5 separate regions of the Homo sapiens genome follow, and all the other regions are linked to region 2. The links are contacts of gene promoters, found by promoter capture Hi-C in blood cells and fetal thymus (Javierre and others, 2016). All regions are on one chromosome and are shown on one strand. The core of a region is centred on a gene start or on the middle of the fragment in contact, and the rest is flanking DNA. Distances in the headings are between cores, read along the strand shown.

Evidence for each region. Contacts are between HindIII fragments. The CHiCAGO score rates a contact against its expected background, and 5 or more counts as called.
Region 1: a fragment that was not itself captured here is called in contact with the fragment with the promoter of CIMIP4 in region 2 in 2 of 17 cell types (M2 macrophages and endothelial precursors); the score reaches 5.4 in M2 macrophages.
Region 3: a contact is called between a fragment that was not itself captured here and the fragment with the promoter of CIMIP4 in region 2, in 9 of 17 cell types (M1 macrophages, M0 macrophages, megakaryocytes and 6 more). The highest score is 14.6, in M1 macrophages.
Region 4: the fragment with the promoter of SSTR3 here is called in contact with the fragment with the promoter of CIMIP4 in region 2 in 10 of 17 cell types (neutrophils, M1 macrophages, M2 macrophages and 7 more); the score reaches 12.3 in neutrophils.
Region 5: a contact is called between a fragment that was not itself captured here and the fragment with the promoter of CIMIP4 in region 2, in 4 of 17 cell types (M0 macrophages, endothelial precursors, M1 macrophages and 1 more). The highest score is 6.1, in M0 macrophages.

What each region holds. Positions count from the first base shown.
Region 1 is chr22:37,188,556-37,191,255 of GRCh38, reverse strand. It overlaps a transcript of C1QTNF6 not described here. Among named protein-coding and RNA genes, the nearest start is that of C1QTNF6, 1.7 kb to the right of the region's middle. RefSeq lists enhancers at 1,366-1,999, 2,000-2,635, 2,636-2,700. The HindIII fragment of the contact is 508 bases long and covers 1,012-1,519 here.
Region 2 is chr22:37,006,427-37,009,126 of GRCh38, reverse strand. It overlaps CIMIP4 (ciliary microtubule inner protein 4), which reads left to right and starts at 1,276. Exons shown (of 6, transcript NM_001163857.2): 1 at 1,276-1,398. The HindIII fragment of the contact is 2,868 bases long and covers 180-2,700 here.
Region 3 is chr22:36,786,010-36,788,709 of GRCh38, reverse strand. No RefSeq gene overlaps it. Among named protein-coding and RNA genes, the nearest start is that of IFT27, 11 kb to the right of the region's middle. The HindIII fragment of the contact is 226 bases long and covers 1,189-1,414 here.
Region 4 is chr22:37,211,145-37,213,844 of GRCh38, reverse strand. It overlaps SSTR3 (somatostatin receptor 3), which reads left to right and starts at 1,368. Exons shown (of 2, transcript NM_001051.5): 1 at 1,368-2,020. RefSeq lists an enhancer at 1,550-2,529. The HindIII fragment of the contact is 10,151 bases long and covers 1-1,726 here.
Region 5 is chr22:36,769,790-36,772,489 of GRCh38, reverse strand. All of the region lies in intron 1 of IFT27 (intraflagellar transport 27), which reads left to right. Among named protein-coding and RNA genes, the nearest start is that of IFT27, 5.0 kb to the left of the region's middle. The HindIII fragment of the contact is 1,007 bases long and covers 870-1,876 here.

The sequences.
Region 1 (2,700 bases), core at 16-2,515, 180 kb before region 2:
ATTATATGCCACAGAGGTATCCACATTTCCTAGTCAATGATATTAATTCTTTAACCATGACTGCTCTAAGTCTTTCTGTCATCCATAGACAATTGTTGTCTTGCTTTTATTCTCTTCAAAAGGTGGTTTATAATCAGCTATAGGACTCTGATGAGTACTCTTAAATGCAGAGAAAAAGAAAACATCATCCAAGACTCTTGGAAAACTAACACATATATATCAAGCAAAACAGGAATTAATTGCATAGACTGAACTAATAAAAGACTGAAATAATCTTTTATGACTTTTTGCTTAAAATGTTGTTGATCTTTCTGTTTTGTTTTTCAGAGTCAAGAAACCCCCCCTTCTTGAGCTATTTACAGCTTTTAACAATTGAGTAAAGTACGCTCCGGTAAGGATTATAAAACAAAGTTTTGTCCAAAAACAAAATTTGGAATATGTTTTTTTCTCTTTACCTGATTTCTGCAGAATTTGGAAACTATTTGTGAGTGTTCTTAACTTACGGCAATATAGTTATTTGCATAAGTGCAGTAAGAATCTGTTTTTCCTTCTTTCTTCTTTTTTTTTTTTTGTAACAGGACACAATTGGAGAAACTGGTTATTTAACAAGGGTTTGACTCGAGTGGCATGCTTTCAAATATAAACAGACTTCTTTAAGGAATTAAAGTTGACTAATAGAGCCAATAAAAGCCTCTTGGAAAAACTGGTCTTGTACCTTGTGTATGAAGTCCCTGTATAGGGTTCCTGACCTGTGGTAAGTAAAGAATGTAACTTTCTGACAGGCCTGGGAGCCCCGAGTTATCTCGGGACCTCAAGAGGAGAGGAATTTATCTAACTCATACAGGTTCTTGCAGGCATAGGTAAATCCATGGCTGGGCTCAAAGCTTTAAAACATCTAATCTAAGATACCTTATGAAACAAAGCCAATTTTAAAAGGAGCCTGTATGGCAAATAATTATACTTGCTGCACTTTATGCAAATAATGAAGCCAAGTATAATAAGACTAAAGCTTATTTTGCAAATAAATTGGTCCTACCATGATTTGTTTTTAATAAAAAATGGGAGACTGGAGAGAGAAAAACGGTGTTTCAAAAAATATGGTACACCTGTCATAGATTCTAGTCTCATCCATTGTTTTTGAGTTTTTTGTCTGCAATTTAGACTGACCTTGCTTCTTTCTGTGAACCAAACAGTCATCTCTTGACTGCTTCTCGTCAGAAACAAGAGGGATGGATAACATAAAAATCTGGATCAGTATCTAATTCTGAGCATGTATTGGAATCGTCTAGCAACTCCGTATCAGCTCATCTAGCAATTCCTGTGACTAAGAATGCCTAACCTCCTGGGAATGCAGCCCAGTAGGTCTCAGCCTCATTTTACCCGATAAGTCACAGGCATTCTTGCCCAGTTCATGGAAAGCCTTCTTATTTGGATTACTTGGGATAATTTTACTTATTTTACTTTGCTGTTGTAGAATATATTGCTGCTATACTCTTTGTGTAAGAATGCAAGATAAGCTTACTCAGTGCTTCCTTAAATTGAACACATTAATCTTCCAGATATCACCTTTTGTTAGGACTCAGAGTTACAAATGACTCTGAACACACCAACATTTTCTTACTCAGTTCCTCTCTGCACCAAACCCAAGAGACTCTAATAGTTAGGCAGGAATATCATCGCCTCTATTCAGCCTGAAGAAGTTACAGAAGATGGATCTTCATGCCTCTACAACCCTTAAGATTAAACGTTCCCTCGTAAAAGAGAGTAGGGAAATATGTCAGAGGTGTTCAAAATAGGGCAACTCCATCTTGAATAGGGGCTGGGTAAAATGAGGCTAAGACCTGCCAGGCTGCATTCCCAGGAGGTCAGGCATTTGTAGTCACAGGAAGGGATAGGAAGTTGGCAGGACTGGTATCACAAGATACAGGTCATCAAGACCCTGCTGAGAAACAGTATGCGGTAAACAAACCAGCCAAAACCTGCCAAATCTAAGATTGCAATGAAAGTGACATCTGGTCATCCTTATTGCTCATTGTATGTTAATTAAAATGTGTTAGCTTGCTAAAACACACTTCTACCAGCACCAAGACAGCCTACAAATACCATGGCAATGTCCGGAAATTACCCTATATTGTCTAAAAGGGGGAGGAAGCCTCAGTTTCAGGAAATTCCCACCCCTTTCCTGGAAAACTCATGAATAATCCACCCCTGTTTAGCATAGGATCAAGAAATAACTATAAAAATAGCCAACTAGCAGTGCTTGGGGGTGCTCTGCCTATGGAGTAGCCATTCTTTTGTTTCTTTGCTTCTCTAATAAACTTGCTTTCACTTTGCTCTGTGGACTTACCCCAAATTCTTTCTGGTGCAAGATCCAAGAATTCTCTCTTGGGGTCTGATCAGTACCCCTCTCTGGTAACACTTGCATGATACCTGAGGAGGTCAGCCTGGTCATTCACCCAACAAACATGGGTTAAGCCCTCCCATGTGCCTGGCACAAAGGGGGCTGAGGACTGCAGTTCTGGAACACCTAGGCTCTGAGAGGCGACGCGACTGTGGTAGCAGGGCCAGGATTCTAGCCTGTGCCTGGAGGGCCAACACCTGCACCTTCTCTGCTACCCACCCTGCCTCTGTGACTCAGAGCAGTTAAGCACTTTAGCTCAGGGTGGACTCAGGGCTGCCTCCCCCTTCCTGAGCAACCTA
Region 2 (2,700 bases), core at 27-2,526:
CTCCCACAGCCACATGAGCTTGGAAGCATATTCTTCCCTAGTGGAACCTCAGATGAGACTGCAGCCCTGGCCAATACTTGGATTGTAGCCTGCTAAGACCCCAATGCAGAGAACTCAGCTAAGCCATGAGTAGACACCCGACCCAAAGAAACTGTGAGATAACAGTTGTATGTTAAGCTTCGAAGTTTATGGCAAGATTGTCGTGCAGCAATAGATAATACTTAGGCAAGAGATGAGGGTGGCTTGGACCAGGGAGTAGGGGGAGTTGTGGAGGTGGACGAAGGCATCCAAATCTAGTGTACTTCGAAGGACTTGCTGATGGGTTGCTTGCGGAAGTAGCTTAGAGTTTTGTGATGTCTCTCTCTGTGCAAGGCAATGTGCTACATTTTGCAAAAAATTGTTTTATTCGCCCATCACCCTTATCCTTAGTGTTGGGTGATATCTGTTTCACATGTGAAGGAAGTTCAGCTAAAGGACTTGGCCAGTCTCTTATCTAATAAGTGACAGGCCCAGATTCTGGGGACTCCAAGTTTAACCACAGCACTCTCTGTTTCCTGGGGAAATCCTGAAAGGCTGGGCTTGCAGGAGGCGTTCACTATACCCACTCTTTGTCCAGGCTGAGCAACAGCCAGACAGGAATGGGCCAGTGCTGGCACCAATGACTTCTGCCTCCTTCTTCTCTGCAGAAAAGAAGTCACTTAATTTTGTTGATCTCCTTCTGTAGCCCTTGTTGTTTAGGAATAGGAGAGAGGACCCTTCCTTTAGTTTTACTCCCAGGTCCCTGATCCCTGGGTGTCCAAATCAGACAGCTCCAGATGCATCTTTCTCCTTCCCCATTGACCTCGACCTACATTTATGCTGTTATACACATCCATGCCTTTAATATTCTCATCCCTTCAAAACTGTTAAGTTCCTAGGCATCCTTCAAGATCCAACTCAAATGGCTCTTTCATAAGTCCTTCCTCCTTTTTCCTACACAGAGCTAGTTCTTCTCCCTACTTAGTGCTTTGAGCTCCCAAGAACATCTTTTGCACTTGGTAGCATCTGAGCCCCCTGTGCCTGGCACACCTGGCATGTAGTGGGGGCTCAACTGACATTCTAGAGTGGATGAGAGAGTGAACAATAATTGAAGCCCCTCCTGCCTTTTCCTGGCCTCAATCCTGGCTTTCTCCTGGCCTCTTTTCCCTACGGGTGGGCCTATCAGCCCTCTGAGGTAACAGAGCCCTGTGTATAGTGATCACCATGGCAACTCCAATGAACATCTTGGGGAGGGCCACTTCCCAGCAACCATCCATTGGTCTTCACCAGTAGTTCTGCAGTGGGGATCTGCACTTCTGGGCTTCAGCACACATCAGTGTGGTTCACGTGTTTCCTGCTGTTATGAAAGAGATTGGAGAGGTGAGGCAGAGACTTATGAAGGGCCAGGGTTCTTCCAGGACATGGGGTTTCATCTTCCTTCTCCCCATTCAGAGTTGCTTGTGAGTGAAGACTGCCTAGACTGGACTTACCTTCCCGCCCTCTTTGACCAAAGTCTCTTGGGATCTCTCTCTCTGGGTCAGAAACTGGAAGTGAGTCCACACTTCCATTGTAGCCCGTCCAGACTGCTGTGGACTGGCAGTGCACTGGGACGTACAGAGCTGCCGTGGGCACGTCAGGTTGGTGGCTGGGGATAGGAGGAGAAAGAAAACTTGGAGCTAACTTGAACTTCACCTAGCTTGAAGATGTGCAATTTAATTTTAGCCCCACCTGGTGAAGTCCTGTGTCTTTTCGGAGCCTCATTTTCTCCATCTGTGAAAGAAGATAAATTAGTAGTGTCTCCGAACACCTTACTGGGTATTTGTGAAGACCAGACTAATTTACCAGATGTGAGAATGCTTGACATGGACTTGTGTTAGTTATCTCTTGCTGCACAACAAATCACCCCAAAACTTAGTGGGCTTAAGACAACATTTACTATCTCACAGTTTCTGTGAGTTGGGAATACCGGTGGAGTGTTGGTGATTTTTCTGTCCCAGGGTCTCTCACAGGCTGCAATCAAGGTGTTGCTTGGGTCTCTAGTCTCATCTCAAAGCTCGACCAGAGAAGGAACCCATTCACATGGCAGGATCCAGCTACTCTGGAGCTGTTGGCAAGAGGCCACTCTGAGTTCCTTGCCCTGTGGACCTCTCCATAGGGCATCTCACAACAGGGAAACTGGCTTCTGTCAGAGAAGATGAGCTGAGGAGAGCTGCAGAGAGTGTGTGAAAAAGACAGAAGTTGTAGTCTCTTATAAGTTCATCATGGATGCAACATCCCTCATTTTTGCCACATTCCATTCATCACTATGTCCAGTCCACACCAAAGGGGAGAGAATTATACCAAGAAACAGGGATCATTGGGAGCCATGTCAACTGCCTGCCACTCTCTGCCCTCTGGCCCCCAATAATGTACATCCCTTCCACATGCAAAATATAGTCATCCCCTCCTAAGATCTTTAAAATTCTCATCCTATTAAAGCATCAGTTTAAAAGCTAGAATCTGGTCATATAAATCAGCTCCAGGTGTGGCTGAGGCTCCTCCAGTGTCGTTCCTTAAGTACAGCTTCTCAGATTCAATTCTTCCCCATCATAGATCTGTGAAACTAAGTAATTTGCCCTGAACACACCTAACATACAGTGATGTGATAGGCATAGGATAAGAACTAGTGACATTCCTATTCAA
Region 3 (2,700 bases), core at 52-2,551, 220 kb after region 2:
AAGAAACAAACAAAGAAAGAAAACAAAGAAAGAGAAAGAAAAAGAAAGAGAAAGAAAAAAAGAAAGAAAGAAAGAAAGAAAGAAAGAAAGAAAGAAAGAAAGAAAGAAAGAAAGAAAGAAAGAAAGAAAAAAGGAAGGAAGCAAGGAAGGAAGGGCCCTTCCAGACACATGAGTAGCAAACTGTAATAGTAATCGCCTCCTGCCTTGAGCACTTCCTCCGTTGAGTATACTTTCCATCCAAGCCTGGGTGATGGATCTCATATCCCAGATACCGGGGGGCCTGCACCCCCATCCCCCTTGCCCTGAAGACCTAAGCCTCTTGTCCAAGGGCTGTGGGAGCCCACTCAGCCCCTGCACAGGCCGAGGCAGAAGCGCCCGAGAGCAGTGCCCTGTGCAGCCCTCAACCAACACAGAACAGTGAGCTGGATCAGAACACACCAGCTTCCTCCCCTCTGCCAGGATGATCTGAGGTCAGCTCCAGGCAGTCTCCCAGAGCCCGGCAGGCCTGAGCCTCTGTAGACCACAGGTGGTGGTGGTGGGCTCATTAGTTCCCCCTTCTGCCTTCCTCCTTCTCCCTCTCTCACTTGTCCACTCCCCTGGAGGTGCTTTGGGAATCACTTTACAATAAACCACTTGTACTCTAGTCCTTGCTGTGGATTGGCTCCTGGGGAAGCCCCACCAAGCCAGTGTTGGAGTTGGGGATTGTATGTGGTTTATCTAATCCTGGAGCCCGAGCTAAACTGGTCTATCCTGTGGGGTTATTTGCACCACAGTCCCGATGCGTGTCCAGTATTCAGGAACACAAACTAGAAAGCAGCCAGCTCTCCACAGCCCAGAGCAAATGTGGCAGGGAAGCAGTCGCTGCAGGACCAGTCCCTTGAACATCGTGCTGTGGAAACAGAGTGTGCTCTGATGCTCTCTGTATTCACCAGAGAGCCTGCGGGGCCGCCTGGGATGCACTCCAGCAAGAAGCCTGCGCCCTGCTCTTACCACCCCAGCTTCTCCAGGTCTTGGGCCACTTGTCACCCTCTCCTGTAGCGCTCACATCTGTTAACTCTCGAGGGGCGAAGAGAGGGCAATGGGCAGAGTGTTTCAGAGACAATTCTGGGATGCCTGCAAAGCTCACTGGGTGAGCCAGCGCCAGATGAGAAATTGCTATGCTCCGGCAGTTTTGCAAAATTCAAAGCTTTTTGCTGGAGCAGAGGGTCAGTTCTTGGAAGGTTTCTTGCATAATCATCCAAAACGTCACCTTGTCAGCATCACCAGAGAGACCATGTCGGATGATCTGGGGCCAGCCCTTTCTCTGCATTTGGAAAGATCTTCAAGAATGTGAATCACAGAGGAAGCGAGGCCCAACTTTATTGCCATCAAAAGGAAATTGCCTACACTTCATGGGCTTCTTGCAAAGAAAGCTTCCAGTCCCTGGTAGAGAAAAGAGTGCATTTATTTATTCATCCACTCCTCTATTTATTTAACAACTGTGTGCCCTAAAGTAGTAATAACCGGGGGCATTCACCCAGTGTTTACTCTTCGGCTGGGCCAAGTGGTTTCCATGTAAGAATCCCATGTAACCCTCACAGCTCTCAGAGGTAGGTCTCATCATCAGCCCCACTTTACAGATAAGGAAACAGAGGCTCAGAGAAGTTCACGAGCTCTCCCAAGATCACCCAGCCAGTAAGCCAGGGGGTTCAGGTTTGGAGAGAGAAGATTTCAATTCTCGTCTCAGTCCTTCTTCTTATTAGCTATTTCGTGTCCACGTGTCATTTGATGCATTTAGCTGAGCCTCAGTTTCCTCCTCTGGAAAATGGACGGAGCCCAGGTAAGAGTTACCAGACCAGGTGAAGTCCAGCAGTCGGGGAGTATATTACACAATTCAGAGCCCACTCTCCAGCTCGGCATATCCCAAAACTGTGTTTTCCCAACAAAGATTAAGTCGGTAGGATGTTCAAAATCTTTCCCAGCAAGCCAGATGGGGATACTGAGAGTAGGCCACAGACATGTTTTTTGCTCAGACTTTAAACTCAGATCTGTTGGCTTAAATGTCTGCCCTCCTGTCCCTCTACCGGGTGCTCGCATCACTGGGCACACCACCCTCGGGTGGGAGAAGTTGAAAGGGTCTGGGTTGCTTTGCATCTCATCAGCTTCCTCTTTGACAGTGGGATGCCTCCTGCCAAAACAATCACGCCTGTTTACAGCTCTAAGAGGCTCGGGAGGCAGCCTGGAGTCCTGCCCCACTGGCCCAGTCGGATAATGCTCTTCTCTCAGCCAGCCTGCGTTTCCCCTGCAGTTCCATTGGAGAAAGGCCCCCCAGCTTTATAGCCTGAACATCTAACGGATATTTTCACAACCCGTTAGGCGGCTTCTGAATTTCAGCTCCCAGATGCCGCATATGGGTGCTGACGACTTGTGCCAAAAATATTTGGAGGAGAGGATGAGGGAACCAACCTCTGAACGGAGCTGATCATGGTAACAGTGACAGCCGTTACCTTTGTCCAGCATTTCACAGTTTGCAAAGCACGCTTAGGCACTACGTGGTGTCAGTTTTGACCCTCGTGGTAACTCTTTAAAGAAGAGGGAGGTTACAGGTATTATTGTCCCAAGCCCAGCCATATCAAGTGGACTGCTGTCTGTCAAGTGACAGAGAAAGTGCTCACCAGGAAGCCCCTGGAGGGAAGGAAGGGTCAGGATGAGCCCTAGGGG
Region 4 (2,700 bases), core at 119-2,618, 200 kb before region 2:
GAGGAGGAGGCCCGCGCAGGCGGCAGGAATCAAGGATGCAGTGCCAGGTGGGCTGCGGCGAGAGAGCTTTATTCTGAGGGCAGTGAGAAGCCGTGGGTAGGGGTGGGTGGTCAGTGCCATGGAAAACCCACCCTTGACCCTGAGGACACGCTCCCAGGAGCCCACCCACACCTCATGAACTTGTACGGACAAGGACAATGGGAGGCTGAGACCTGGAGCAAGGGCCTTGTCCCGGGCACAAGGCAAAGGGACGGGCAGCGTTAAGAGACCAGGCCGGCTCCGGCTGGAAGTGGGTGTGTCCTACTGTGTGCTGCCGCATGCATGGTGGCACCTCTGGATGCATTCAACTTCCAGTTCTCTGCAGTGCCAGGTACCTAGTGACAAAGGAGGTCCAGCCCTGGTCCCAGGGAATGGCCCAGTTTGGAAAGCAGCCTAGGTACAGCCTGGCACATAGTAGGTGCTCAGCCAAGACGTGTGTCCTTTTCCCTTCCGTCTCTGACTGTTCCTTTCCTTATCACTCCTGTGCTGAGGCAGGAATCAGCACAGGCAGGGGCACGGCATCCCAAGACATCTGGGCCTGTGCTCAGGACTGTACGGCAGAGTCTCTTAGACCAAAGATCAGTAAATATGGCCCACGGGGCAAATCCCACCCACTGCCTGTTTTTGTACAGCCTAGGAGCTGAGAATGGTTTTTACGGATGAACATTTGCAATCGGTTTGATGAAACACTAACTCTAAACTCCAATTAAGCAAAAGGTGATGTCTGTAAAAAGAACTCTATTCTTCTCATGAGTGGACCTACATTACAAAATACTGGCCTCAATTATTATTATTCTATTTTGAGTTTTGTCAGTTACAAAATAGTAAAAATCTGTTTTCTCACTGCACAATGATTTTGCCCTCAAAGCCTAAAATATTGGTTCTCTGTTCTGTCCTTCCACTCCTCACCCTGCCTGGGGCTCTCCAGATGTAACCAATCCCAGGACTAATGACCCCCACCCGGCCTCCCCAGTGGTCCGTGCTGCGGCCGGTGTGCCCGACTGCAGGGCTGGACTGTGGACTCCCGGGCTGGCCAGCCCCACACCCAGCCTTGCCTTGGGACACAGCTGCTGCCCCGGGGGACCTGTGCCGCAGTGGCCTCACGAGCTGCTCTGGCTACTGGCTGGCAGCCTCGGCTCCCCTGAGCACTGAGCACATTCTTCTCTCCAACTCCCTGCAGGAGCCAAGGCCAGCGGGCGTGGGTGGCTGAAATCTCCCCGGTAACAGGGTCTGCGCCCCTCCTGCTCCCTCTCCGGGCCTCCTCCCTTAACCTGCACCCCGCCCCCACCCCCCACACCTGCTCTCCGGCCCTCAGCCCCTCCCTGCTTACTCCCTCCTTCACGGGCTCCATGTCACCATCTGTGGCACAGTCCCTCTCTGTCACTCTCCCTGCCACCCCCTCATTCTCCTTCCTCCCTCCTGCCTCTCTCTGCATCTCTCCCTCTCACCCGTGTCTCCTCTCCTCTCTTTCCTTCTCGTCTTCTCCCTGTCACGCATCTCTCATCACTCCCCCTCATTCTGCCTTTCCTCCTACTCACGGTCTCCTCTCCCTCTCCCTCTCTCTCTCTCCCCCTCCCTCTTTCTCTCTCTCTCTCTTTCTCCACCTCCTCCCGACCCCCTTTCCCCTCTATTTCTATTGGCTTCTGTGTCCCTTGCTCCCCTCTTCTCTTCCTCACCCTGGGAAGCTTCTCCCCCCTATCCTTGCCCCTGCCCCCCCAGGATGTGTCCTGGAGATGGGGGGTGACGTACCAGGCTCTGGTTGGGAAGTCAGGGCCGGAGACCAGATGGGAGAGGCTCTGTGGACAGCCGTGGCCGAGGGCCTGGGAGGGAACCTGAGCCCGCAAGCGGTCTAGAAGTGGGTGCCTTGTGGGGACCCTAGTTAGGAGTGCCCTGGGGGCACCTGGGGACTGGGCAGGGAGAGGGGACAGCAGAATGATAACCAGCCTGGCGGCAAGGAGGGAAGCCCTCACCCCATGGGCAGGTAAGGAGGCTGGGGCCCGGATGATGTCCCGAAGGGTGGGGTCCTGGAAGCCCATCCTCTGCCCAGGATGAACTTGGGAGGCTGGGGCTGGGGAGGCAGAGGGTGGGGACTCCCAGGGAGGCAGGAGGGAGGCCTTCCTGTGACCTCCCGGTCGGCTGCAGGGGCAGGGGCGTTAGTCTCAGAATCTCGTGCCATGATTCTAGGATCTCGGAATCACAGAATCGCAGGCTGTCAGGGCTGGAGGGAGCCAGATGTATCATGTCGTTGGCTTCCCCAGCTCACGTGGCAGCTCTCCTGAGCTCCCCCTCCATACCCGGCACTGTGCTTGGCACGCCTCCGTTTAATCTCTGCAAACAACCCTGGGAGGTGGGTCCGCTTGTCTTCCATATGACGAAACTGAGGTGCAGCGGGGAGAAGTGACTTGCCCGAGGTCACACAGCAATTTGGCATCATCGCTGTGCAGCAGAGCCCAAGCCCCCAGCGCTGGGCCTGTAGGGTGTGCTCCTGGGATCAGGCCCCAGGCCTGGGGTGCCAGTGAGTCAGTCGGCACTGGCAAGCATAAGCCAGGTGTCTTTGGGGGGAAGGCCGAAGCATGTAGAGGACAAGCAGAGAGCCAGGGGCCATCGCCCTGCACTATTCAGGACTGTCATGGCCTTTGATCCTTCTCAGCCTGAGGCCTT
Region 5 (2,700 bases), core at 124-2,623, 240 kb after region 2:
TTTGTTTACTTTTAAAAAAACACTTAAATAGTACTTATATATGCCAGGCACTGTGCATATTAACTCATTAAATCCTCATAACAATTCTGTGGGGTAGGTGCTATGATTATCTTAGGTTATACATGTTGCAGCTGAGGCACAGAGAGGTTAAGTAACTGATTTAAACTCACACAGCTAGAAAGTGATGGAGCTGGAGTCTGGCTCCAGAGTCTGTGCCCTTAAGTACCATAATATGCTGCCTCTTGATATACATGGAGATGGTAATAGAGCCTCCTGGGAGGGTTGCTCTGACATCACATCGTGCGCTACCACTGAGCAACGATCCACGTTAGCCACACAGATAAAGATGAAGGAGGGAGAGATGGCCTTCAGAGGCTGTGCAGGAAGGGTATTCTTTGAGCTTTCCTTGCAGAGAATGGACAGGATTTGAATTTGGTCTAGGGGTACCTGGAAGGAGGTGGCCTTGAGGAATTTCCAGGGACTGGGCGAACAGGAATGCAGAGCCCAGATTTGGGGTAAGGGATTACTAGGGAGAGAGTGGGAAGGTGGGTTAGGGCTGACCGTGGAGATGGGTAGGCTATGAAGGAATCCTCAGTGGGGTTTGTGTGAAGGTTTGCCAAGATGGAGGCACTGTGTCATGGGGGTCCACCTGTTGATGCCACCCACTGGGTGGATAACAGCCGGGAGAAAAAAGAAGAGAAAAGAAGTGTTCAAGGCACAGTCGGGAAGACAGAAAACGCAGTCGTCATTTCAGCAGAGAAATTTTAATGTATGGAATTGCTTCATCAAGTGTTGGAGAACTGAGGAAGCAAGAAGGCAGCATTGAGTTGACACAGATTGGCGGGCAGAGGTCGGGGTTGTCAGAAGCTTGAAGAGACCCAGGGAGCTGGGATCCGGACCCCTGAGGAAGGGGCCCTGCCCGGCTGGTCCCGGCACCTCAGGAGTTCAGTCACCTGCCGCGTGACCCCAGCACATGCCACAGAGCACCAGGACCCATTTCCCACTGGGAGGAGCCCAGCCCTGTGTTCAGGGCAAGACACACCAAACCAGTTCCAAACCATCCTGGAGGGTCCATGTTTTAAGACCACTCCTGGTACCAAGGACTACATAAGTCAGGGGCCAGGCAAAAACCAGCAACTCTACTCGGCATTTCAACAGTGAGGATTTCAGTAGGATGTGAATGACACTGGTGCTAGAGGACTGGAAGAGGAAAAGGGGGAAACTGAGGCAGCACGGGTAGTAACTGCAGGAAGGAGCACCACCTCTTGGGCTGGGGAAGCAGAGGGAAGCATGTGGGGCTCTCAGCCCAGAAGCAGGGAGGAGGGGCCCTGGGAGCCAAGGTGTGGATCTCTGAGAAGAGGGCACTGCCCGCTGGCGCTGTTTCCTCTGGGGGCAACAATAAGCTGGTCTGGGAGTAGGGAAACACACACACACACACACACCCCAAGACAGGAAGCAGTTAGTGCTGCTGGGGTGCAGGCCATTGCTAGGGTAGTACTAAGAAAAAGGAGAAGCAGGCGGGAAGAGCAGTGTCCTCTCCCCCGACTCCAGCCTTCCCTTCTTCTTCCAGAACTCCCATTGGCAGAGCCTAACAGGAAGCTCCTAGCAAGGGAGAAATGTGTCTGCAGAGGCCCCTCCCCTGCACACTGTGGAAGGATGGGCTTGGGGCTGAGATAGAAACCCAGCAGTGAGGCTGAGCTAACTGGGGCAGGGTCAGCAGGGAGGGCCGAGCAGAGGTGGGCTGAGACTCAGCCAAGGATGTGAGGAATGCAAGGGAGGCTGCCTGAAGATGGGAGGAAGGAGGAGGAGCAGTCAGAGGTGACCCGTTGAATCTGGGGACGATGAAAACACACGGTGGCGTCACAAACAGAAAGCTTGGGTGATGGGGGCAGCCCACTCAGGACCAGGGCATGACGGAGCTTGGCTGTAGACAGACTGAGGTTGGAGGAAGGTCCTTCATTCTAGTGGCAACGCACACGGGTTTTTGGATATACAGACAAAGCTTGGGAGGGAGATCCTGCCTTCTGTCAAGGTGATGAGAGTCAGTGGGACGGAGTGGACTAGGAGCAGAGCGCCGCCGATGACAGGCCCATGGGAATGCCCACACTCGGGGGGCAGAGGGGCAGGCAGATAGCAGGAGAACCAGGCCAGGGCAGGGTCACTGAGGCCACGGGGACAGGACTCGGGAAGGAAGGGGTCACTTCAGGCTGACTCACATCCTTCAGAGAAGTCAAGGAGGATGAGAACCAAGAAAAGGCCATCGGCCTTGGCAACTGTGAGGTCACAGGTGATCTCGCATCGTGCCCTTGCAGACGTCATCCTCTCTGTCCTGCAGCGCCCTGCCTGCTGTCGCCCCCAGGCCCAGCCCTTGCCCCTAGGGAAGCCTCCCTCCCCAGTGAATCCTCTCATTCATTTCTTTTCTCGATGCTTCCCAGACGCCTTGCTTCTCAGTTTGTGCTATTTGAATTTGCACTTGTCATCCTGTTGCTCTGCAAATGTGTTTATCAGTTATTTCACCTCCCTGTGCTTCTGAGCCCTCATAGCCAACACAGGCGGTTTCCTGTAAGTGTTGGTGACTCTGACTGACAGTCAGAGGAAAGATTTATGAAATTAACCAGAACAAATCTGTGAGGAATCTCATAAGCAGGAGGAGCCAACTTCCAGCTGAATTCAGGAGCAGAGCTGAAGTTGGGAGGGCGG